5 separate regions of the Homo sapiens genome follow, and regions 2, 3, 4 and 5 are each linked to region 1. Evidence: promoter capture Hi-C in 16 types of primary human blood cells and fetal thymus (Javierre and others, 2016). All regions are on one chromosome and are shown on one strand. The core of a region is centred on a gene start or on the middle of the fragment in contact, and the rest is flanking DNA. Distances in the headings are between cores, read along the strand shown. Region 1 holds the start of MIR1915HG (MIR1915 host gene). Region 2 has its middle 6.3 kb from the start of COMMD3. Region 3 has its middle 38 kb from the start of COMMD3. Region 4 overlaps LOC105376447 (a long non-coding RNA gene). Region 5 holds the start of TRN-GTT2-3 (tRNA-Asn (anticodon GTT) 2-3).

Region 1 (4,739 bases), core at 699-3,198:
TCGAACAATGGCATTTCTGAATCTGTTTGCTTGATTGACATTTGGGAGCTTCATGACCCCAGAGAATAGGACTCATTACGGTGAATACACCAAAACATCAACCAAGATTAGAACTCTAGATGCTGTTTTAATCCCATTCCAGTCCAAATTATAGTGGGAAAATATAAAATCCAAGTGCAGAGAATCACTCCGTTATATATTGACCTAAAGTTTTAATTGTACTAAGGGGGAAATAAAAGTGGAAACCCTCTATACTTTCCAGAATTTTAGATAGAGCACTGACAGGGAAAATGCATGGATTTGGTAGCGGAGGTACTAAGAATATTTGTGTGGTATACAACATGTCATACTTGGGAGACACTTTATTGGAAAAATAAGTAGAGAGTTTTTTGTATGTATGAGAAAAATATCATAACCATTTCCACTTAAAAAGTGAAGATCATTCTGATGCCCCAAAATAACTGAGGCTAAGAAATAATTAGATACCTTAAAGCTACAGTCTAAATTTCCATGACTGTTTGGAAGACTTCTCTCCAACGCGGGAGGGGAATTTGTTTTTTAATGTCAAAGGTTGTGTTAGCATGTACATTTAACCCAGGAAATTGTGAGAACTCTCTTCAACTCAAGTTGGAAAAAGGGAATGTGTTTGAGCAAAGTCTATTTTTAACAACAGAAAAGTGTGAGTTAAAGTGGACTGTGTGTTAGGTTGGGAATATAATCCATGGCAACTTCACTATACAAGTATTTTTGATTCTTCAGTGGAACTCATCCTCAAATTTTAGTAACTTGAAAAATTGAAGTCTTAAGTATTGTGTATTAAACTGAACCAAGAGATCACAGAAAGACAAAGCTATGGTAAAAGATGTTATAGTTATATTCTCATAGATTTAGTAGGAAAATCACAGCAAAGGAAATGCACCAGGAAGATATGAAATAGAGGAAATATGTTACAAATAATGAAATAGAAGGAGTTGCTGCACAATATAGCTTCACAATCTTATATTTTGAGGGGTAGGTTTTAATGAGAAGCCTCTGCATTGCATGGGAACTGGGAGTCGTAAGAATTATTTATGCAGTAAGAAGGAAAAAAATTAATTATTAGGAGCTCAATAATCACCAAATAAACTCTGAGCTTGGAGGTTAAAAATAGACGGCTATCTTCATGTTCAATTATACAGTATCAATTACTAATACAACTGATGTTTCAGTGTCTCAGCGAGAACAGATACCATCTTCTATGGAGATATCTTGGTATTAATTAATGACTGCTTTATTCTCATTATTCACAAGGAAAAATAGGGGTCGTGTCACATTAAAATTAAGATTATCTTAGTTTATCTGGGCTCTTAAACAAAGATCATTCAAAGTAATTATACTTTGAATTAATCGAGGTAGGCAATTTATCTCGTTATTTTTTTTTGTTCAAAGACAGGAAAATAAAGATCAGAAATAAGCAAAGTTTCATTTTGAAGATAGAAAGAACCAAACAAACATGTCTTGACTTTTGCAGTATTTCCCTTGCTAAAGGGGGAATGAGGGAACTGTAAAAGACGTGACTTTGCAAAGTCAAGTCCTTTTTAAAAGACTCGGATCGAAATTCTTGCTATGCAACAAGGATTCAAGTTTGATTAATTTTCTGCAAGCGACGTGACAGCGGTGTTTTAAAAGATTAATTAAAATTGAAGTGATACGGAGCAGGAATTCAACCTGCAGAGGCGTCCCTGGCGCCTTGGGGGGCTTTGTAAGCGAGTCCCAAGCCCGAACTGCGGGCTTTCCCGAGCCTGGGACGCAACTCCCCGTCTCCTGGAGAGGAACGCGGAATTTGGCAGGGCGCCCGCCTGGCCGCCTGGCATCCTGAGCTGGCCGCCAGCTCTCGGGGGGTGGGGACTGGGTGTGTCCTGGGGAACCCGCTGCCGAGAGAGCAGCTAGCGCAGCTCGCGACGAGCCATTGAGGACCAGGGTCGCGCCGAGAGGCCGGAGGGGGCTCCAGGCAGCCTGGAGCTGACGGCGCCGGGCTGCGTCCTCTTCACCTGGGGGTGGGGGGTGGGGGCACGTACTTTGTGACCAGGATGGTGCCGAGCCCCCTCTACGGCGGGAGCTTGCAGGGGTGCGGGGGTGTGACTGGCGCTCCGCGGACTCGTGTCCACAGTACAGAGGACATGTAGGGTTCGGCCGGGGCGCGGCTGCACCGGGGCCTGCCTCGCGGACCTGGACTCGGGACTCCGGGCGGCCCTGCCTGGTGCCATTGCCTCAGCCAAGTCTCCCACCTCTCTGCTCGGTTTCCCGCCCCACCTTTCCCCTACTACCGCATCCCTGTCCCCTCGCTTCCCTCCGCGATGTCTCCATCCGAGTAAGAAACGAAGCTGAACGCATTGGTAACTGTGCTCAAGAAGATGCAATCGCGGGAGCCCTCAGGGTGGCGCACGGCGGAGAGGCGACGCGGGTGGCGCTGCAGAGGGTACGGTGGGGGGCGGGGAAGAGGGGGGCGTTCGTGTGCAATTAGCCTCCCCAGGGCGCGGACCACGGTGTCCCCTTCTCTCCAGCTGGGGGTCTCGGGTCCTGGCGCTGAGAGGCCGCACCTTGCCTTGCTGCCCGGGCCGTGCACCCGTGGGCCCCAGGGCGACGCGGCGGGGGCGGCCCTAGCGACCTGCGGCGGCGCCGGGAAAGCCCTGCCTCTGCAGCGGGTCCCAGGGGTCGGGGCCTGGAAGGGTCCCTGGGAATGCTCCGCGCCGAGAAGGCTCTGTGGTTTCTCCTCCCCCACACGTCTCCCTCTCCTCCCCTCTTCCCGGGGACCTCAGAGGTGGCGGGGAAGTGGGAAGGGAGGCGGGCTTGCAGACCGTGCAGGCTGGGGAGCCGGAGCTCGGGAGTTGGGGGAGTCCGAGTGAGAACGGAAGCGCGTGGACGCGATGGAAGGGGCCGGGGGAAAGGGGGACGGCACTGGGGAGGGCTGGGGTGCGGGGCAGGCGACAGTCCCTTCCCCTCCGAGCGGCGCGGGGGACCTCTTCCCCGGGGAACCCCCACCCAGCCGTTCCCAACCTCGAGAACAAAGGGTCTGGGAAGCACGGTCGGGGTCGGGGAGCGGAGGTGGAGGGAGGCAGGAAGGCAGGCGGTGGGGGCAGGGGAGGGCGCCTCCCCACGTTTCCTCTCGCGGCCGAATGATGGAAAGCTCCCTCCAGCAAACGCCTCACTGAGGCCGCTTCTGAATCCGGGAGGGTTCGGGTTCGTTACCTAACGGCTGCACTTCGCTCCCTTCCTCCCCCAGCGTCCCCACCCCCTCCGGGGACCGGGGCCCCGGAGCTGCCAGGCCCGCTGCACGCGGCGGCGCGGGAGAAACCACGGGGCAGCAGCGCCCCCTGCAGGTGCCGGGCGCCTCCGCAGCCGCTGCGCGGACCCGACTCTTAAGGTGGCACCACCGGGTTCCCAGCCCGCGCGCAACCCGCAGCCCTGGCTCCATCCGCCGCACTTCTCCCTGTAGCGGCGGGCCTGACCGTCCGGAACGGCCGGAGTGTGCTGATGCCTGCTGCTATCTGCTTGATCCCTTCACCCTACCTCTCATCCAGGACTTCTTCCGCGGATGCGCAGCTAGCGATTTCGACAGGCGAGATTGAAAATTCCGGGCGAGTATATGAGGTTGAGTAAGTCCCGCTTCAGGGAGGAACGACCAGAATGACATTTCTTTAAGCCTAAATCAAACTTTTATTTTCGTTTATAAAAAGCAGAAGGCCAGCAGGAAAGGGTCGCGGAGGACTGGCACATCCACAACCGTAGGACTCTTGGATCCAAGTTTTTAGGCTGAGACTGGGCGGTCCGGGGTTCTCCTTCGGCGCTCACACCCCGCAAACTCGTGGGCAGTGCAGTGCTGGAGGCCGGGGGCAGTGGCGGACCCGCAGGGTAACCTTGTCTCGCGCACCTCCCGAGCCCCCAGCAGCCCACTCTCGTCCGAATGCTTTGTTTATTTGGTGACACCAGGGAACGTGGAGAAGAAGATCGAAGTTCAGTTTTTCTTTTTTCTTTATTTTAAATATTTTTCTTAACTAAATGGTATGTTTATGTGAACCCATCATCTCTTGGAATTAAGTGTCCTCAGCGAACTCCAGATTCCTAGGGGAAACCTACGTGCCCAGAGCAGGAAACGCACAAGTCAATTCAGGTTCCGGTGCCATCCGCAGTAAATTCCCTTCCTTTTGCTCCAAATTCCTCCTCTGCGTCCAGGAGAGGGACCCCCGGGACTCCCGCACACCCAGGACCGGGAGCGGCAGAGCAGAGGGCGGGTGCGAGGGCGCGAGGGAAGGGAGGCGGCCTGCGGACCTGGGGCGCGCAGTTTCCCGGCTCCGTGGGAACCTCCAACCCCGGGGCGCGCGGCCTAGGCTCCGCCCTGCCAGGCTTGGGGCCGAGCGGCCCACCTAGTGGGTCCTGACCTGGGGAAGCCGAGTCCGCGCGCGGGTCGGGCCGCGACGAGGGAAGCTCGCCTGGGCAAGTGCCGCGCGGGGTCAGACCCACCCCAGGGGTTGCAAACCGCAAGCGAAAGTCGAGAGGGGCTGGAGCTTTCCCTCTGATCCGTTTTACACTGTGAAAACCGCAGGCCTGTCGCCTAGGCGGCCACTTTTAAATTGGGAAGCAAATAGACGAAAAACCAAAACAAACGTACGAGCTGACTTTTCCCAGCTAAGTTTCCCCTCAATAAAAAGCCCGCTTTCTGGGAAAGACAGAAACTGATCCGCGCTCACGATTGCTTTCTT
Region 2 (4,739 bases), core at 1,423-3,922, 810 kb before region 1:
CAGAGTCTCACTCTGTCGCTTGGGTGCAGCAGCATGATCTCAGCTCACGCAACCTTCATCTCTTGGGTTCAAGCAATTCTCATGCCTCAGCCTCTCAAGTAGCTGGGATTACAGGTGTATGCAACCACACCCAGCTAATTTTTGTATTTTCAGTAGAGACAGGATTTTGCCATGTTGACCAGGCTGGTCTCAAACTCCTGACCTCAAGTAATCTGCACACCTTGGCCTAGAAAACCATAATTTTGTTAAACTTTGCAAATAAGAAACTCTGTAGTCAAAATCTTGGCAAGAAAATACTATTTAATTTCTAAAGTGAAATTTGGGAGCTGTCATCAGTGTTGTCATGCCATGATTTTGTTAGCTACTTGAGTGAGTATAAGATAATGGCAAAATTAAAGGAGCAGACCTAAGAATGAAATTATAACTTTAAATATCAAATCTTTGTATCTAACCAGTCCACAGTTTTAAAAGGATTTCGTGGATATTAGAAAAGTCATGTCTACTCTTTAGGACTTCAGCGTAGCATGTTGAAACGTATTTTAGGAAGTTTGATCCCTTATTTTTAAGCAAAGCAGTTAATGTCACATGGGGAATATCTGAGTTGTAAAGACCAAAATTGTGAAGTCTTCATCTAAGAAGAAATGAGAAATCGATTTGTAAAAAAGAAATGAAAATAAACAAATGTAATTTGGCAAAAGATGAAGGCAAATTTTAAGTTAAAGGAAGGAAGTTAGGAAGAAATGAAAGAAAGCAGTCATACTCCATGTAACATTTAATGAGAAAAGAACAGGTTGCATTATGTGTCTTAGAATTTCTCTGCACAGACAAATAAAAAATAATTTTCCTTTAAATTCCGTAAGTGATTTAAATGATTCACTTATCTTTTGTATGGATTATAAAAAGCAAGTTCAATTCTTAAATCACATAATTTCTATCTTCACCAGTTAATTTATATGAAAATTAGGAACTGGCCAATCACCTAATAAATTCCATCAAATAGACCATTTAGATAATAAGCACAGTTACCTCCTCAACAGCAGGTTGATTTTTTTTTCTGTACTAAAATTATAAACGTCACCACTTCAGTTTCCTATATCATTGATCTGGTATCAGCCAGGATGGCCCATGGCTTAGCTGTAGGAGGGTAAAGTGAAGAAGAGACATGAAACAAGTTTACATTGATGACTGTATCTAATTCTTCCATGTGTACACAGACAGTCCTTTAAATTGTTTTATATCTTTAAAAAGAGGGAGGGAAGGAGGGAAGAAGAGAGAGAAAGGGGGGAAAGAGGAAGAGGAAGGAAGAGAGAAAGGACCTGAGAAGTGTCACAGAAAGCTTATTTAGTGTTTATTTTCTGTGACACAATCCAAGATTCTTTTAGCTACAATGAATTCAACTAAGCTTCATTAGTAAGGCTTGGAAAAGACTGAAAGATCATCTGTTTTGTCCAGAATCTAATCAGTTTCAAGATGTCCTACATTTAGACTACAACAGCAGAGAATGTCTAACAGAGTCTCTTCGTTTTTTAGGTCTGGATTTGGAATCTCTGTGTTTTTTCATACCTTAGAAATTGGAGTTTGGGTTGGTTTCACGAATTCCAGCAAAAAATGGAACAAATGGGCCTATGCTGTGGGATATTATTGTTGAAAGCCAGTAACTTTTTCAAGTTTGTATTTTGAGAACATGCTTTTTACATGTTAAAATGTGTACAAATAAGTATATTTTGTTTAAGGAACTATAATTTTACAAACAAAAATGAAAACAAAAATAAAGGTTTTTGTAGATTAAAACCAAAGTAACAGTATAATTGCTTATAAACTGAAAAATGTAACTATATTCACTTGTCAAATGAAGCATTTTAGAATGGAAGTTAGTATATAAGAAGGGATGATTTGCATTAAATACATTATAAACAGTTAAGGAGACTTTACAGCTAAAGTACTTTTAACTCATTTAAAGTAAGCATTTAAACCAAAATTAATATTTCAAAAGAGCTTACATGGCAATGAAAGCCTAGATAAGTGTTTTAATATTTTTAATTGTGTACAATATTTAAAATGATACTGGTTAAGAATTTAACATTTTGGGCCGGGCGCGGTGGCTCACGCTTGTAATCCCAGCACTTTGGGAGGCCGAGGTGGGTGGATCATGAGGTCAGGAGATCGAGGCCATCCTGGCCAACATGGTGAAACGCTGTCTCTACCAAAAATACAAAAATTAGCCAGGCGTGGTGGCATGCATCTGTAATCCAGCTACTAGGGAGGCTGAGGCAGGAGAATTGCTTGAACCTGGGAGTCGGAGGTTGAGTGAGCCAAGATCGTGCCATTGCACTCCAGCCTGGCAACAGAGTGAGACTCTGTCTCAAAAAAAAAGAATTTAACTTTTCTATTATGGTTGTTATATTCAACAGAATACTGATTTTATCCCCCTTTTCAAATTAAATATAGACTTGAAGCCATTTTATGGATAAGTCAGTCTAAAAACTACATTTTTAAAAATCCTAGTAGAATAATTGTGTTCAGCTTTTTCACATTTGTTACATAGCTAGAACTATTCAGAAAATACTTTGAATTGTTTATACGTAGCTGATTTTTACACCGTGGTGAATGTTTAGAAAGTAGTTTTACAGAGTTTTGAGAAAACAAGCACCTAAAAAAATAGATTAAACTTTTCCACTGTGTTTCTTCCCATATACTCAGTTTTTCCCTGAACTTTTGTTTCATTGTTTTATTAAGGTTAAAACATAAATGTTTTTCTAACTCTCTCAAATGTTATTTTCAAAATTAATTTTCTTTGTGTAAGCATTTTAATCTATATTTTATGAAAGGGGATGGGGAGGCAAGTTTTATAAAATCTTTTTAATGTAACAAAACACCAAGAAAATAATGACTAGCAACAGGTGAAAGGGAGAATTGTATTTATATAGTCAGTTTAGTCCATGTAATTAGAAACTTGGACCTGAATTACTGGCGTAATTACTCAACTTTCTTTTCTTTTTTTCTTTTTTCTTTTTTTTTAATGCTAACAGAAATAGGCCGGATCATTTAGAGCAGCAGTATTCTAAATCAAAATTAATCAGATAATTGGCAACTTTTATTTGACTTTTAGTGCTCTATAAATTACAGACCAAAAACAGGAGAAATTTGCTAAAGAATAACAATGTAGATGGAAATATGTGGGTAAACAAGGCCCTAAGAAAACTGAATTTTCAAATGGTTTTCTTAGAATTTGAAAATGAAAGAAAATTTTAAATTAGGCCTAGCTGTGATATATAGGTGAGTAGTTGATAGATCTATAAGAAAACTTTTATTTTTGCTTAAACAATAATTAAAATGTTTATGAATTGAAATAAAAAATAGTTTTATAAGACCAAAAGTATCAATAAAGACATACATATTTTGTTTTATAAGTTTCAATAGCAATATACATTCTTCTTTATAAAGAACTTTCAACAGTGTATACTGGAAATGTTGGAAAAAAATTGATTTTGCACTTGTCAATTATAATAGAAGGAAAATAATATTCTTACATATGTTTTTATATACTTTTGAAAGTTGCCTTAAATTATTTTTGTAGCAAGATGAACATAAATAAAAATATAAAATACAGATGTTTAGAAGTCAGTTTAACCAATAATTAAAGTGCTTCTAGAAACCTAAAAGAGTGTTTTCAAACGAATACTTTTAAATTAATTTTAATTTCATTTTGGTTTTATTCTATTTCTAAAAGTTGCTATGATCAATATTTGTCTGTTTGTAGAAACTATGACATCTATGATGACAAATGTTCAAACTGAGTCATAATGATAGTCTGTTAGGTTAAAATCAAGAGTCACTACAGGAGAGTAGTCATTTTGCAAACATCCTGCCGTGTTAACAGGGGTTGGGGGAAAGCATATGTCATAAAGTAACAGACTTAAATCTTTAGCTAAGTAAGCTTTAAGTATCTGTCCATTGCTATAAATAGTATAAAGACAATCTAACTGTGTTTGCTTAAGCTTTTTATCTTAGCTTTCTTTTATGGTATTAAAGTTTAAGAAAAGTATAAAGATAAAAACTTGGCTAGATTTAAACATATTCAATATGATTCCTAAGATGGTTTTTTAAAAAAAAAAAAACTTTACATAGAAATGTCATCAGGTTCTTAGGCATAGTTATATGTTAGCCAAAAATTTTAAATCATTCCAGCTAAATATAATAATAGGAGAGTAGCCAGTACTTCTCTGAGTATTATAAGAATATTGCGCCATTCTTTGAATAAAAATAGTCATTCTTTTTTCTTTAAGATATCTCAATAATTATATGAATGATAATTTTGGAAAATATAAGGGTTTAAGTGGCAAATTTAAGTATCAGTGTTTATCTTTTGTTTCAAGTGGAATATCAGTTTTTCTAAAAACATACTCATTTGTAACAAGATTTATTGAAAAGAAATATCAAAAAACTCTTTTTTGGGGAGCATTTATCCAGTAATGTATTCAATTTTATTTAATAGGGAGATTTTAATAACTTTGCTTAACAAGCTGTTTTTTATCTTAATAACTGTAAGGATTGCTATAAAGTTATATAAATAAGTTATAATACCTTCTTAAAGTATACTGAAGTTGATAGGATTTTTAATATGGGTTATAAAAAAAGCACCATAGGTTGTAACTTCTTTACTTTTTTACTTTACTGTTCTCATAGAGAGTCCTTTATTAGACAAGTACCTGGTACTTAATAGATAGTCAAGAATATTT
Region 3 (4,739 bases), core at 967-3,466, 780 kb before region 1:
AGAGCGAGATCCTGTCTCGAAAAAAAAAAAAAAAAAAAAAAAGGAAAAGGTATAGTGACTGCTCTTAGGGAGTCTATCCTTCATGAAAACATCCTTGTTAATTATATTTTTCCCCTAGTTAGTCATAAATAATCACTGTTTACTTATTTATTAATTTAACATTAATCTATTGAGTACTTACTTTATGCCAAGCTTTGTTCTAGGTGTTTAAAGCCAACAAAATTATCTGCCTTCATGGAACTTACCTGCTAGTGAGGGGAGACAGACAATAAACAAATAAATAAGTAAAATATATATTGGAAGATGAGAAGTGCGATAGATAAAAGTAAAGAAGGGATGGAAGATAGTGCTGGGGTGAAAGTGGGAGTTGCAATTTTAAATAAGCTAGTCAGGTAAAGACTCATTGAGAAGGTGACTTTTAGTCCAAGACCTGAAGATATCTAGGAAGACACCTGGAGAAGAGTATTCCTGGTAGAGAAGCGACAATGGCAAAGATCTCCAGGAATGAGTACACCTGGAGTGTTGGAAGAATAGCAAGGAAGCCCCTGTGGCCAGAGCAGAGGCACAGCACAGCGGGGGACAAGGCAGAGCACAGCGGGGGACCAGGCAGAGCACAGCGGGGGACCAGTCGAGGACTTTTGAGACAGCCACGAAGACTTTGACTCTATCCCAGATGGGAATACACTGGAAGGGTTTGAGCAGAGGAGATTTTCAAAGGATCCTCTTGGATGCTCTATTCAAAGTAGACATTAGGTATAAGGGTTGGAGGAGAGGCTGAAGTAGGAAAGCCAGTTAGGAGACTATTGCAAGAATCTAGGGGAGCGATTATGGCAGTGTACGTCATGATGGAGGTGGTAAGAAGGGATTGGTGTCTGCATAGGTTATAAAGGTAGAACCAATAAGACCTCCTCACAGGTTACATGTGGGGGTGCAGGAGAAGAGAGAAGAGCCAAGGATGACACCAAGGCTTTGGACCTGAGCAATTTGGAAGGAGGGAGTTACCATTTATTGAGATGGGGAAGAGAGTGGGATTTACAGTTTTTATCTGGGGGAAAAATCAGAAGTTCCATTTGGGACACAGTAAATTTGAGATGCCCGCTAGATATTCATGCCATGCTGTATAGGCAGGGATATATTTGAGACTGCAGTTCAGGGAGGAGGTGTGAGCTATAGGTATAACATTGGGAGCTGTCAATACAGAGGAAGTTTGTCAAGCCTAGAGATTACTTGAGAACGACCTAGGAAAGAGACCAATTCAAAGACTGAGCCTTGGGGTGCATCAACATGTAGACTTAAAGGAAAAAAGCATCAGGAAGAAAATTAGTGGAAAATCACTGCCATGTTTGGAAGGAGCACAGGAGGATCTTGTCGCATTTTTAAACTAGATTCATCAGTTTCCCAAGACCATATTCTCTTTGTTTACTGAAAACTTGGCAGCCGTGTGTAAAGTGGCATTGTTTCTTTTCACAAACAAATTAGAGCCCATTTAGTACTGTGTTTGAGTGCTATTAAATATTTAGGTAATCAGTTGTAGGACTAATTGACCTTTGGGGATGTCTTTGTAGCCCCTTCTAGAATGTCAAGTGTTTTGTTTTTAAATAATAAAAAATTGTTCCTTGAGAGTATGCAAATCAAATTCTCAGTCCAGTTAATTACATATTAGTGTTTCGTTAAGTAAATCTGCTTAAGGCGAAATTGCTCTACAGTCAGTTTTAGCGAGTAACCAACTGATATTCGGGGTCATAGAAGGTCTTTAATGCAGGAATAATGTGAATCAAGGGAAATGTCTGTGAATTATATGGTAAGAGTTGTCTTTTCTCTTTGCATGGAGGTTTTCCAGCTAATTGAGTTCATTACTTGTCCCATTAAAGGAGATTAAGTATGTCAACACTGTAGCTGGATAATAGAAGGTCTGTAGCAAAAGTACAGCTCATGCTAAAGTTCAAATCTTTATTTCTAGGGAACAAGATATAGAGATAACAAAGGGAATGAGGAAAAGGAGGTTTCAGCATTCCAGACCGAATATGAAAAGAGGCTCGGCAGGCGACAGGGCATAGCCAAGAATGAAAAAGGTGGGGGAAATCTCACAAGATATTCTCCACTTCTTCAGGTCTGTCCCTCTGTTAGATACATTTCTGTTCTCCTCTCTTCCCCATCTTAGTAACCTCATAACACATTCACCATGAGGCGGGAAAATAGGGTCTGGATGCAGGAAAGCTAAGGCCAGATTCACACTTCAGCTATAACAGGAAATATCCTCTCCATAGGGCATACAATCAGGAAATGTCTTTGTAACTTCACTTCATCCTCTTCATTTACATAGGGTGTACCCTAAGTAGAGGGAATTTAAATTCACAAAAACTGTAACAGGGCCTTTGTGCCCCTATGCTCACTCCCGCTGCCCGCTCGAACACTGTGGAGTGTACGTTCTTTTTTGTTTGTTTGTTTGAGATGGAGTCTCGCTCTGTCGCCCAGGCTGGAGCGCAGTGGCACTATGTCGGCTCACTGCAAGCTCCGCCTCCCGGGTTCACGCCATTCTCCTGCCTCAGCCTCCCGAGTAGGTGGGACTACAGGCGCCCGCCACCACGCCCGGCTAATTTTTTTGTATGTTTAGTAGAGACGGGGTTTCACCATGTTAGCCAGGATGGTCTCGATCTCCTGACCCCGTCATCCGCCCACCTCGGCCTCCCAAAGTGCTGGGATTACTGGCGTGAGCCACGTCGCCCGGCCGGAGTGTACTTTCATTTTCAGTAATCCCTTCATTCCTTCCTTGTTTTGTTTGTGCGTTTTGACGAATTCTTTGTTCAAGATGCCAAGAACCTGGACACCCTCCACCGTTAACAACCATGCTATCCCACCTGAGTAACTCTGTTATTTTACTAGCCAGAATATTCCTGCTAAGGAGCTATACCAAGGACACACATGTATTGTGCATCGTAGCCAGACGTTGCCTTCCTGCTGCAGTCTGTATACATATGAGCCAGGTGTGGCAGACACTGCTATTGGCTCCCAAATCCATTCTCTCCCTTTCTCTACAGTAACTCTGGAATTTTAGCAGACACAGACCACACAGAATAAACATTACTTTTTCCAGGCTCTTTTGCCATTCCATTCTGACAACATACCCATTTTGAGATTTACAAAAAGTTTTGCCTCTTCCATGAAACCTGATCCGAATCCTGTATCTGAAAGGTGATTTTATTCTTCTGTGAATGATCACAGGATTTTACCTGCACCTCTGTTATGACATTTATAAAAATGTCTGATACACATTCCTTAACACTTTTTTTTGAGACACAGTCTTGCCCTGTCGCCGAGGCTGAAGTGCAGTGGTGTACGTATAGCTCACTGCAGCCTTGAACTCCTGGCTCACGTAACCCTCCTGTCTCAGCTGCCTGAGTAGCTGGGACTACAGGCGTGGAATCCCATACCCAGCTAATTTTTAATTTTTTAAAATTTTATTTTGTAAAGTTAGGATCTCTCTGTGCTCCTCAGTTTGATCTTAGACTCCTGGCCTCCTTCACTTTGGCCTCCCAAAGTTCTGGGATTACAGGCGTGAGCCACTGCACCAAGCCACATTCCTTAACACTTCTATCTTGTAAGCTCCTTGGACACATGAACTGGATTTGGTTTATGTTCCATAGCCTCATATCAAGTACTTTGCAAGTAGAAGGCACTCAATCAACATTTTTTGCGTATGGCATTGTGGAAATAGGTCCTTTGTTACACTCTTCCCACTTGTTTTGGACTTCGCTCTCCTTCTAATGTTTTATTTTCAAATCTTTATTATTATTGTTTTTTGAGATGGAGTCTGGCTCTGTTGCACAGTCACGCAATCTCTGCTCACTGCAACCTCCGCTTCCCGGGTTCAAGTGATTCTCCTGCCTCAGCCTCCCAAGTAGCTGGGATTACAGGCACCTGCCACCATGCCTGGCTAATTTTTGTAGTTTTAGTAGAGATGGGGTTTCACCATGTTGGCCAGGCTGGTCTCGAACTCCTGACCTCATATGATCTGCCCACCTCAGCCTCCCAAAGTGCTAGGATTACAGGCGTGAGCCACCGCACCCAGCCATCTTTATTCTTTTGGAAGGAATAAAGACAATGTAATTGAACTTGAGAAAACAGAAATTAAGTGATTCTACTTTTATTTTTCTGTCTTCTTTAACATCTTTGCCAAATAAGAGGCTCCTAATTATTTCATTAGTTACACTTCTATTTAAGACAATGGTGGAAAGCTTCCTTAAAATATACTCTCACTGTTACTCTTTTGCTTGAGAACCTGTGGTGGGCCTCTACTCCTTTCTGTGTCAAATCTGAATTCCTCTGTGTCGTTTTTCAGTGAATTCCTCCTGTGGCTATCGAAATGTAACTTCTCCCACTCCCAAGAAGAACCTTCAATCCTATCCCGTTAGACTCCTCACTGCATGGGAGTGAGCCCTGTTAACTCCCACTCCTGTTATTTTGTTTTTTCTCTTCCTCCAGCTGATACCACCTTTTTGCTCTAAGTTTCTTGTGGAAATCCTATTCATCTCTTAAGTGCCTACTTGAAATTCACCCTCTCCTTGTAATTTTATGGTAGAACATTGGCACTTATTAATTGCTTTCTTTCTGAAACTGCATTTATAATTTACAATGCTTTTCGTAACTTAATTTCATTTAAAATGATCTCTGCTGTTTAATTGTTTGTACCTAACTAAATTATAAGCTGTTTGAATTCAGGAATATATATTTATATACTG
Region 4 (4,739 bases), core at 1,208-3,707, 750 kb before region 1:
AAAGAGCAAAATTTTGTAAGGAGATTCTTTTCAAAAAGTGTTAGAGAAGTATTCTTCAAAAACATCTTAGAATGTTTCCTTAAAAAATTTCCTTTCTTGGTTTTCATTAATTGCCTTTGATTAAAATTAGGTTACAAACATATCTTAATTTCAGACTGTTTCTTTATAAAAGAAAGGAGAAAGTAAATAGGTGTTGGCAAGGACTAAACCAATGCAACTAGGCCCTGTTGAGAGCCTAAATCTGTAAACTGGTACCCTTAAAAAACATCAATCAACTTGAGGTTCGTACAGGTAGTTCTTTGACTCAAACAGTTGATTTTTAAAAGTCTTATAAAATAGGTTAAAATGTGTTTTTAGTCCAGGTTCCTACTTCTTTGTTATGCATTTCTCCTCGTAGATAAATAAATGAATCTAACTTGATGAGTAGGTAGATTTTTCTCCAGAAGAACTTTCTAAAAATGGGCAAAGTTAGGGAAGTGATTAATACCCTTCAGTTTAATTGGAATTATTCAGTGCTTATACCAAGTTAATCCTATTAAGATGCTATTTCCTGCTCAGGGGGATAAATTAAGCACAACTTAGATTATTTTAGGTGGACAACTGGTATATAGTCTAAGCAATGGGGGCTGGAAAAAAGTATCTCTTCTCCAAAAAATATAGATTATGTACCAGTAATGTTCAAAGTACTTTGAGGAAGTGTATTGATGGGATGAATATAAATCATAGTGACTGTTGTTAAGGGGTTTACGGATTATAAAGAGCAATTGAGCTTCCTTTATTTTCTCTTATTTAGAAAACAAACATTCATAAGAAAAAAATAAAATTAGATCCCTTCTTTTGCCCACATACAAATTCAGTTTCAGATCAATTAAAAAGTTAAATAAGAAAAATAGAATTAAAAAAATATTGGAAGGCTGGGCGCAGTGGCTCACGCCTGTAATCCCAGCACTTTGGGAGGCCAAGGCGGGCAGATCACGAGGTCAGGAGATTGAGACCATCTTGGCCAACATGGGGAAACCCTATCTCTAGTAAAAATACAAAAATTAGCTGGTTGTGGTGGCACATGCCTGTAATCCCAGCTACTCGGGAGGCTGAGGCAGGAGAATCGCTTGAACCTGGGAGGCAGCGATTGCAGTGAGCCGAGATCGCGCCACTGCACTCTAGCCTGGCAGCAGAGTTATCTCTGTAACTCTCCATCTCAAAAAAAAACAAAAAAAATTGAAAGGAAATATAGAATTTGTAGTATGAAAGGATTTCTTAAACAAAACATTAAAATACACAATCCATTAAGGAAATGATCAATTGGATGACAGTCATGCTCCAAATAATGATATGTTAGTCAATACATGATAATAGTCCCATAAGGTTATAATATTGTATATTTACTGTACCTTTTCTATGTGTAGATGTGTCTAATTATACAAATACCATTGTGTTACAATTGCCTACAGTATTCAATACAGTCACATGCTGTACAGGTTTGCAGCCTAGGAGCAATAGGCTTGTACCATATACAAACCATCTAGGTTTGTGTAATTACACTCTATGATGTTAGCATGACAAAACTGCCTATGGACCTATTTCTCAGAATATGTCCCTGTAGTTGAGTGCCATGTGACTGTATATAAAAATTTTTAAAAATACTTTTTACATGACAAAAGATATCATAAAATGTTACAAGATAAACTGAGAAGATATTTTCAAGGCATGTACTTGGTGAAGGATTCATATTCAAAATGTATAAATAACTTATATAGAAAGAATTTACTAATTTATGTATAATGAATTTCATAAATAAAAGATGTGGGCCAGGATATATACATATGAAGTGAAAGTATAGTACTATCAATAGGATGAATACATATCAACTTCAAAAAATGTAATTTCCTTTGGGATAGAAAGAAAGAAGGAAGGAGGGGGAATAGGAAGAGGGCAACAACTTCCTGCCCAGGGGGCAACAACTCTTTTTTTTTTTTTTTTTGAGACAGAGTCTTGCTTTTGTCCCCCAGGCTTGAGTACAATGACTCGATCTCGGCTCACTGCAACCTCCGCCTCTCGGGTTCAAATGATTCTCCTGCCTCTGCCTCCCAAGTAGCCAGTTAAGGCACCTGCCACCATGCCCGTCTAATTTTTGTGTTTTTTAGTAGAGACGGAGTTTCACCATTTTGGCCAGGCTGGTCTCGAACTCCTGACCTCAGTTGATCCGCCCACCTCAGCCTCCCAAAGTGCTGGGATTACAGGCATGAGCCACTGCGCCCAGCCCACAGCAATTCTTTATAAAAAGATCAGAGGCAACTATGGGAAGACATTAACACTTTTTGTTCTTTGTAGATTGTTAAAAGCTTGTTATAATTTATTTAAAAATCTCTAACATCAATTCCTAGTCTAAAGAATGAACAAATGACACATTTCTTTTCCTTAGTCAATAATAATCTTGTAAGATGGTGTTCACGTGCTTTTCTTTGAGGGCAAAGAAAACACCATTCCCCAGTGTTTTTCCTGGGCAGTGTTTGAATATTATATGATACTCACAGCAGAGATTTTCCTAGTTTGGCTTCTGTTGTAAGCTTGTTTTCTGAGTAGATTTAAATGAGAAGAACAGAAACATATTTGAAACTATGACTATGTATAAGAGCATTTATTCTCCTATAATGAAATCGTGGAAAATGTTTTTAAAAAGTGAGCAAACAAAAACCTCCACACCATTATAGAAACACGGTTAAAAAACTATTGAATAATCTCAAGCCTAGTGTGTAATAATTATTAAGTGTGTCTAATTTGTTGTGCTAAGTGTCAGGAATTGGTATTGTGGAAGGATATGTGAGATCTCATTTTCTCCTTTTATATGGCAGGAGTTTATACAGTATTTACATCTGTCATTGATACTTTTTATGAACAGAAGTTTTGTTTACTTATAACTTCCACAGGGATTATTCATATGGAGCACTGGAAAGATGTAACATTTCATTTGCTTTGATACCTTGTGTTTATTTTAGGTCGAAAAGCATCATGAAGCCAAGTGGTTATTGTTTTGCTTATTCAGTGTGAACTGAGTGAGCCAGGTTTGTATACCAAGTGATTCTCGTGGTGGACAATACCAATATGATTATGCCAAATGCATTGCTTCTGAGGCATCACTCTTTGGGCACATATAGACCCTGCTGATTTCTGCCAAAGCACTCTTCTTAAAGTTCCAAAACATTACCCCAAAACCTCTATAGCCCCCTATTGCCAACAAAATTAAAGCCTTTCTCTTCATTGGCATTAGAAGCCCCTGTAACCCATTGCTTTTCCATTTCCAGCCTCTTTCCAAAATTACCAAACAAACTCTGTATCCTGCAGCCACCAAACTGTACTAGTTGTAATATATTCACTAAGAACAGTGGTCTCTCATTTGTCTCTCTTTTCTCTCTTCTTATATCAGTTAGAATGTAACAGACAACCCAGCTAACACAGAGGCTCATTTTTCTTATGTGACAAGAAGTCTGTAGATAAAGAGTTGCTAGTGTTTTCTTGGGGGTTCAGTGATATCACCTCTGTGATTCAGTTGACCTTCATATCATAGTTGCAAAATGGCTGCCGTAAGTACAAAAACCACACTGACTGCTGGGTGGGAAGGCAACAGAAAATTTGTTCTTGGTGAGTCTTACTCACGTCAAGGAAGTATAATATTTTCCAAAATGCCCCACCAAAGGATTTCCTCTTACATCATATTAGCCAGAACTGGGACATATTATCACCCTTTATCTGGGGTAGAGGCCCACATTTCCACATCAAAGGGAATTTGCTCAATGCCTAAATCAAACTGGAATTCAGTTAAGCAAAGAAGAAACAGAGGAATGGTTTTTGGGTAGGCAGTAAACACTGTCAGCTACATCTCCCTGAAAGCCATCACTCCCTTAAAATATCTTTGCGTAATGTCATCAGTTACTTCTGAACTTTTTCATCCAATGGACAGTGTTTATTTTCTAACTTACTTGAACTTTTTGTGGGGCTTAGCCACACCCTTTTTGAAATTTATGTATTCATCAAATACCCACTCATCACTTACTGTGTATTAGTCACTCTGCTGGGCAAAGAGAATGAAAAAATGAGTCATGCATGGTCCTGAACCTTCACAAGTTTATAGCCTAGTGGGGCAGACAGGTGAATAAATAAGTGCAAAAGAATGTTATAGATACTGTGATAAAATTATGTTTCGTGGGCCGGGTGTGGTGGCTCATGCCTGTAATCTCAGCACTTTGGGAGGCTGAGGCGGGTGGATCACCTGAGGTCAGGAGTTTGAGACTAGCCTGGCCAACATGGTGAAACCCCGTCTCTAATAAAAAATAACAAAAATTAGCTGGGCGTGGTGGCAGGCACCTGTAATCCCAGCGACTGGGAGGCTGAGGCAGGAGAATTGCTTGAACCCAAGAGGCAGAGATTGCAGTGAGCTGAGATCACGCCATTGCACTGCAGCCTGGGCAACAAGAGAAAACTTTGTCTCAAAATAAATAAATAATATGTTTTGTGGGTTTTTTTTTTTTTCTTTGACAGGGTTCTTACTCTGTCACCCAGCCTGGAGTGCAGTGGCACGATTATAGCTCACTATAACCTCGGGCTCCCTGGCTCAAGCAATTCTCCTGCCTCAGCCTCCTGAGTAGTTGGAACTATGCAGGCTAATTATTTTATCTTTTGTAGAAATGGGGTCTTGCTAAGTTAGCCAGGCTTGTCTTGAACTCCTGAGCTCAAGCGGCCTT
Region 5 (4,739 bases), core at 685-3,184, 730 kb before region 1:
GATGCATTATTTTGCCCCCCTTTAGCTTTTCTCTTAAACCATGTCTTTTTAGAGATAATTATCTGAATAATTTCACAAGATTTTCCAACTAAGTGATACAACTTTAAAAAATAATAAAAAAGAAATATACTAATATACCTTAATGCTGATTGCCTTTTTTTTTTTTTTTTTTTTTTTTTTTTTGAGATAAGGTATTGCTCTGTCACCCAGGCTGAAGTGCAGTGGCATAATCACAGCTGACTGCAGCTGCAACCTCAACCTCCCCGGCCTCAAGTGATCCTCCTGCCTCGACTTCTCAGGTAGCTGGGACTACAGGCACACACCACCACACCTAGCTAATTTTTGGATTTTTTGTAAAGATGGGGTCTTCCTATGTTGCCCCAGCAGGTCTTCAAGTCCTGGTGTCAAGCTATCCTCCCGCCTCAGCCTCTCAAAGTGCTAGGATTACTAGTTGTGAGCCACCATGCCCAGTCGAATGCTAGCTTCTGTGATGCTCCTTTTGGCTTGTTAAACATAACTGACCTTAGTCCTCCAGTTTTATATGAGAAGGATACTTTTGGTGAGTAGGAAACGTGGTTTTAAGCTTGAGGCTGGTTGGAAGGGTTCGATTTACTTTTACTCATAAATCAGTTGTAAAATATGATTAGCATTTGTTTTGAGAATTGGTTTCATAATTCTCCTCTTGCTCTTAGAGACATCTGTGTAGTGTTGTCTTTTAACTTATTTCCTGGTGCCACCACCTTCCACTTATTGGGATGACTTCTGTAACTCACTTGATTTAAAAAACAATTCCAAACTTTGTTTTTCTTTGTTTTGAGACGGAGTTTTTGCTCTTGTCACCCCGGCTGGAGTGCAATGGCGTGATCTTGGCTCACTGCAACCTCTACCTTCCGGGTTCAAGCGATTCTTCTGCCTCAGCCTCTCGAGTAGCTGGGATTATAGGTGCCTGCCACCACGCCTGGCTAATTTTGTATTTTTAGTAAAGACGGAGTTTCACCATGTTGGCCAGCTGGTCTTGAACTCCAGACCTCAGGTGACCTGCCCGCCTCAGCCTCCCAAAGTGCTGGGATTACAGGTGTGAGCCACCATACCCGGCTATTAAAAAAAATTTTTTTTAACTGGATTTTTCGTTTTTAACGACTCCGTCACCATACTTCTGAAATACAGAAATGAAGAAGAATTCAGGTCATGCACAATCCTGCTAATGGCAACCCTGTGAGTTGCCTATGCTGTTGGGATGAAGCTGGAAGAATATTATCTGAAAGCCTTGGATTCATGGTATCTGGAAGGTGTTAGATCAGTGTGGTCCATTGTGGCTTGCCTGTTAAGACAGGTGAATCCTATTTGCACAGATCTTCTTGCTTTTCTCTCTTCCTCTCCAAGAAGAAAATAAAATATATATGCCCATTAATCTGCACAGATGAGCCCCATTGATAGGGCATATTCTTAGGAAAAGTAAATTTGCAGTTCAGTTGTGTATAATACACAAAAAAGGGGGCAAAATGCCCAGTTCATTTTACTTTTAGCAGTTATAAAGACCCAAGTGCTAATGAAGCTATAGGACTCATTTATCTTGGGTTATCTTAAAATTAAGAAAAGATAATGTATGTTTCTAAAATTAATCCAGTGGGCTTAGTTTGGCTTTAAAAACTGAACATAAATATTATGGCCTAAGATGAGATAATCACAAAGATTTAGATGACAATGCATTCTTCTCCCTTATTTTTGTTAGTGATCATTCTGCATAAAAGATGTGCTTGATATATACCATTGGAATAAAATGTTCAGAGTCCATTCAATATTTTAAACATTTATATGCTCCTTTGAAGTAGTTTCAAGTGGAGAGGGAAAACAAGGCAGAGCTAAGTAACCGTGGAAACAGCCATTTTATGTAAAATGTTAAAAACTACAGAACCAGGCTTGAAGACAGTTTTAAAACCAATAGTGGTACTTACATAGACAATTTTTTAGCCTAGAATGAGTTAATATTCCTTTCTGAGTTAGTTTTTCTCATCGACTGTTTCTCATTATCTCTCTTGTTAGAAGTCAAATGCTAGTATGATGACTGAAGTGAGGAAAAGATATTGGAGCTGAAGAGATTTACATGAGTAGAACCGTTCCTAATATTACTTTAAACAGAAGAGTAAACATTGAATGATGGGGCAGTGAAGTACACCCGTTGCAGTCTGTTCTAACTGGATAGTCACAAAAACAACAGAGGAAAGGACACTCAGTTTGGTATTTGGAGAAGAAAAGCCAGTACCTGATAGTTTTAGCTCCCATTAACAGGTACATATAATATTACCAAGTACAAAGCAGCATCGTCTAATGAAATGAGACTTCTCATACACTCTGTAGAAGCATTTCCTAGATTGTTTTTTCAAATTCAAAAATTTCAAGTGCACTTCCAAAAGTTTGTTGAAAGTGGCGTGGTGCAGCTTGGCGTGAATTCACAGCTGTTTAACATCTCAACGCTTTCAGGGAACTCGGCTTCTAATTGGTTCCAAAGCCAATTTAAGTTGTCTTACCATGCAACGGGAACTCAAAATGCTGATTGGACCAAGACGCGTCGCTTACAACGTCTATAAATCATGATAGCGATTGTTTTTGGAGGGATTCTGTACAGAGCGGTTTAGTGACTGTTAAAAATTTAAACACGTTCACGTTCTCAAGTGGAAACTCGCAATTATTTGAGGAGAGAAGAAGGGAGAAAAAGAGCGTTTGGAACTTAGAAGTGTACCTTAAAAGGCACCAGGAAACATTCACACAAAGGGAACGATTTTCATTGAAGTATTTATAGGAATGGAGCATGTTTACCTGCAGTGTTTCTGTGCTAAAAATTTGCAGGAGTTAGTATAAATCATTCCTTTTTCTTCTTTAACTTCTCTTTCCTCAAATTGGGTTTTATTTATCCCTCGAGATGTGTGTTTTAAGTGCTATGCTTCGATGTGGGTGTGTAGGCTAATTCCAGGGACGAGGGCAGATTTAGCAATAAACTACAACGCACTGGAACTAAGAAATGTTCCTGTAGCTTTTTTTCCCTGATGTTTCTTTCCAGTAACAAAATGTTAGTGTGAAATCATTGTACTGTATTTAGTACAAAACAAATAGGGATTTCATCTATGCATTTAGTAATACCTGAATATAAAAATAAAGCAGCCAAATAAAATTCAGATGACCTTGGGAATACTACACAAGTAAATCACGAGAGATGAGCGAACGAAGCACTGGGCAAATTGTTCGAAACAAAGGGAAAGTTTCTCAGCTCACAAGATGAAAGCTTTGATTTTCTCATAAAAGAAAACTAATAAGAAATAGTTATTTTCCTGAAATACAACGTTCCAAATGGGAGTTGGCGGGGGGGAGCAACAGTATTTTAATACATTTTGCAATCTGCAATGCTGCTTGATTTTGTTGTATAATTTTGCGATATGCTTAAAAGGTGGAAAATAGAATTAAGAGGGTTGGAAACGTGAAGTAAAATATTTTGGTTCTGATAGTACCAATCAGAAAGCAGAAACAGCCACACACTGCCTTTATTATTCTTCATAAAGGCTGAGGCAGAAGGGGAAAATGACACCGAAGTCTCTGTGGCGCAATCGGTTAGCGCGTTCGGCTGTTAACCGAAAGGTTGGTGGTTCGAGCCCACCCAGGGACGCGCTCTCCTTTTATGAGCTGGTCGCGGGAAGTTTTGCAGAAATCGAGTTCAGGCCTCCGGGATAAGAAGGGGTGGATTTCCAGGGACCAAGCAAAGAAACCACCGACCCTTACACTACGCGGCCAGCCGGCGAGCCCTTCGCTTTCGGCCGGTGCAGAGCGGCCTCCTCTCCCCCGCTGTCCTCTCCCGGCTGCAGGTGAGCGCGGCCACTCCTTCCCCGGGGTCTTCACGGCGGTCTAGGCCTCGCCAGGGTGCTGGAGCGGGGACGCGCAGAGGCCGCGCGGGCCCGTTTGCCGCGCGCGCCCGCCGCTCCAGCTCTGCGCGTCCCCGGAGGCCCGCGCGTACACGGGGAAGGCGGCCCGGGCTGGTCTTGCTCGGCTTCGTGACGCGTGAAATGTAACGGGGCCACCGAAATGCATGTATTTCAACAGTGTCAAGTTCAAGCTGCAAACTGAAAACTCCTACATTTTGTTGAAGCATGGCCGCCCTTTTGTCTGTTCCCTGTCAGCGTAAACATCTCCGTTTGCGACTTAAACATTAATTGTTCCTGGTATTAATGCCTTCAGAAATAATTTTTGTGTAGTAAATCTTTCGTGTGGACAATATTGTAAGAATATATATTATATTTTACTTTTTCTACTAAAACGCTTGAATTTAGTAGAGAATAGAATAAGCCTGCAACACTTCCCATCAAGGCGGAAAAGGAGAAAACCTCTTTTACAATAGTATGACTGTTAAACCTGAAAAAAAAGAATGATGAGAAAGATTGAATGTGAAGCTGCTACCATACTTTGCTTCAACTTTCTACTTTCAACGTCCCCTACCTTTTATTTCCCCAAATGCAAAGCCCTCTCAAAATAGTTTCCTTCTATTTTATTACTTTGAGAAATAATCATAGTTTCATCATAATAATTATTGTTTTGGCTTGGACTACAGAAAATTGAAAGACAGTTTTGAAGAAAAGTGTAAGAACTAATACATCTTATTCCTGTGGATATATTGTTTTATATTCGTTATGTTTCAGCTCAGTTGACATATTAATAAAGGCTTATTTTATTGAGTGCTTTCGTGGAGAAAGGTA

Evidence for each region. Contacts are between HindIII fragments. The CHiCAGO score rates a contact against its expected background, and 5 or more counts as called.
Region 2: a contact is called between a fragment that was not itself captured here and the fragment with the promoter of MIR1915HG in region 1, in 5 of 17 cell types (total B cells, fetal thymus, non-activated CD4 T cells and 2 more). The highest score is 11.4, in total B cells.
Region 3: a contact is called between a fragment that was not itself captured here and the fragment with the promoter of MIR1915HG in region 1, in 1 of 17 cell types (total B cells). The highest score is 5.1, in total B cells.
Region 4: a fragment that was not itself captured here is called in contact with the fragment with the promoter of MIR1915HG in region 1 in 3 of 17 cell types (total B cells, fetal thymus and naive B cells); the score reaches 9.2 in total B cells.
Region 5: a fragment that was not itself captured here is called in contact with the fragment with the promoter of MIR1915HG in region 1 in 4 of 17 cell types (non-activated CD4 T cells, naive B cells, fetal thymus and 1 more); the score reaches 8.1 in non-activated CD4 T cells.

What each region holds. Positions count from the first base shown.
Region 1 is chr10:21,494,469-21,499,207 of GRCh38, reverse strand. It overlaps MIR1915HG (MIR1915 host gene), which reads left to right and starts at 1,948. Exons shown (of 2, transcript NR_160800.1): 1 at 1,948-2,458; 2 at 3,263-4,739. MIR1915 (microRNA 1915) reads left to right here and starts at 2,567; the gene lies at 2,567-2,646. RefSeq lists silencers at 2,468-2,717, 2,928-2,977, 3,028-3,467, 4,281-4,380 and an enhancer at 3,892-4,685. The HindIII fragment of the contact is 8,649 bases long and covers 1-4,739 here.
Region 2 is chr10:22,307,679-22,312,417 of GRCh38, reverse strand. No RefSeq gene overlaps it. Among named protein-coding and RNA genes, the nearest start is that of COMMD3, 6.3 kb to the left of the region's middle. The HindIII fragment of the contact is 2,535 bases long and covers 1,405-3,939 here.
Region 3 is chr10:22,276,124-22,280,862 of GRCh38, reverse strand. No RefSeq gene overlaps it. Among named protein-coding and RNA genes, the nearest start is that of COMMD3, 38 kb to the left of the region's middle. RefSeq lists enhancers at 96-595, 596-1,097. The HindIII fragment of the contact is 4,043 bases long and covers 195-4,237 here.
Region 4 is chr10:22,246,063-22,250,801 of GRCh38, reverse strand. It overlaps LOC105376447 (a long non-coding RNA gene), which reads left to right. Exons shown (of 2, transcript XR_001747390.3): 2 at 1-3,382. It overlaps LOC124902391 (a long non-coding RNA gene), which reads left to right and starts at 4,719. Exons shown (of 2, transcript XR_007062086.1): 1 at 4,719-4,739. The HindIII fragment of the contact is 225 bases long and covers 2,345-2,569 here.
Region 5 is chr10:22,228,428-22,233,166 of GRCh38, reverse strand. It overlaps TRN-GTT2-3 (tRNA-Asn (anticodon GTT) 2-3), which reads left to right and starts at 3,585; the gene lies at 3,585-3,658. RefSeq lists a silencer at 3,884-4,133. The HindIII fragment of the contact is 2,697 bases long and covers 586-3,282 here.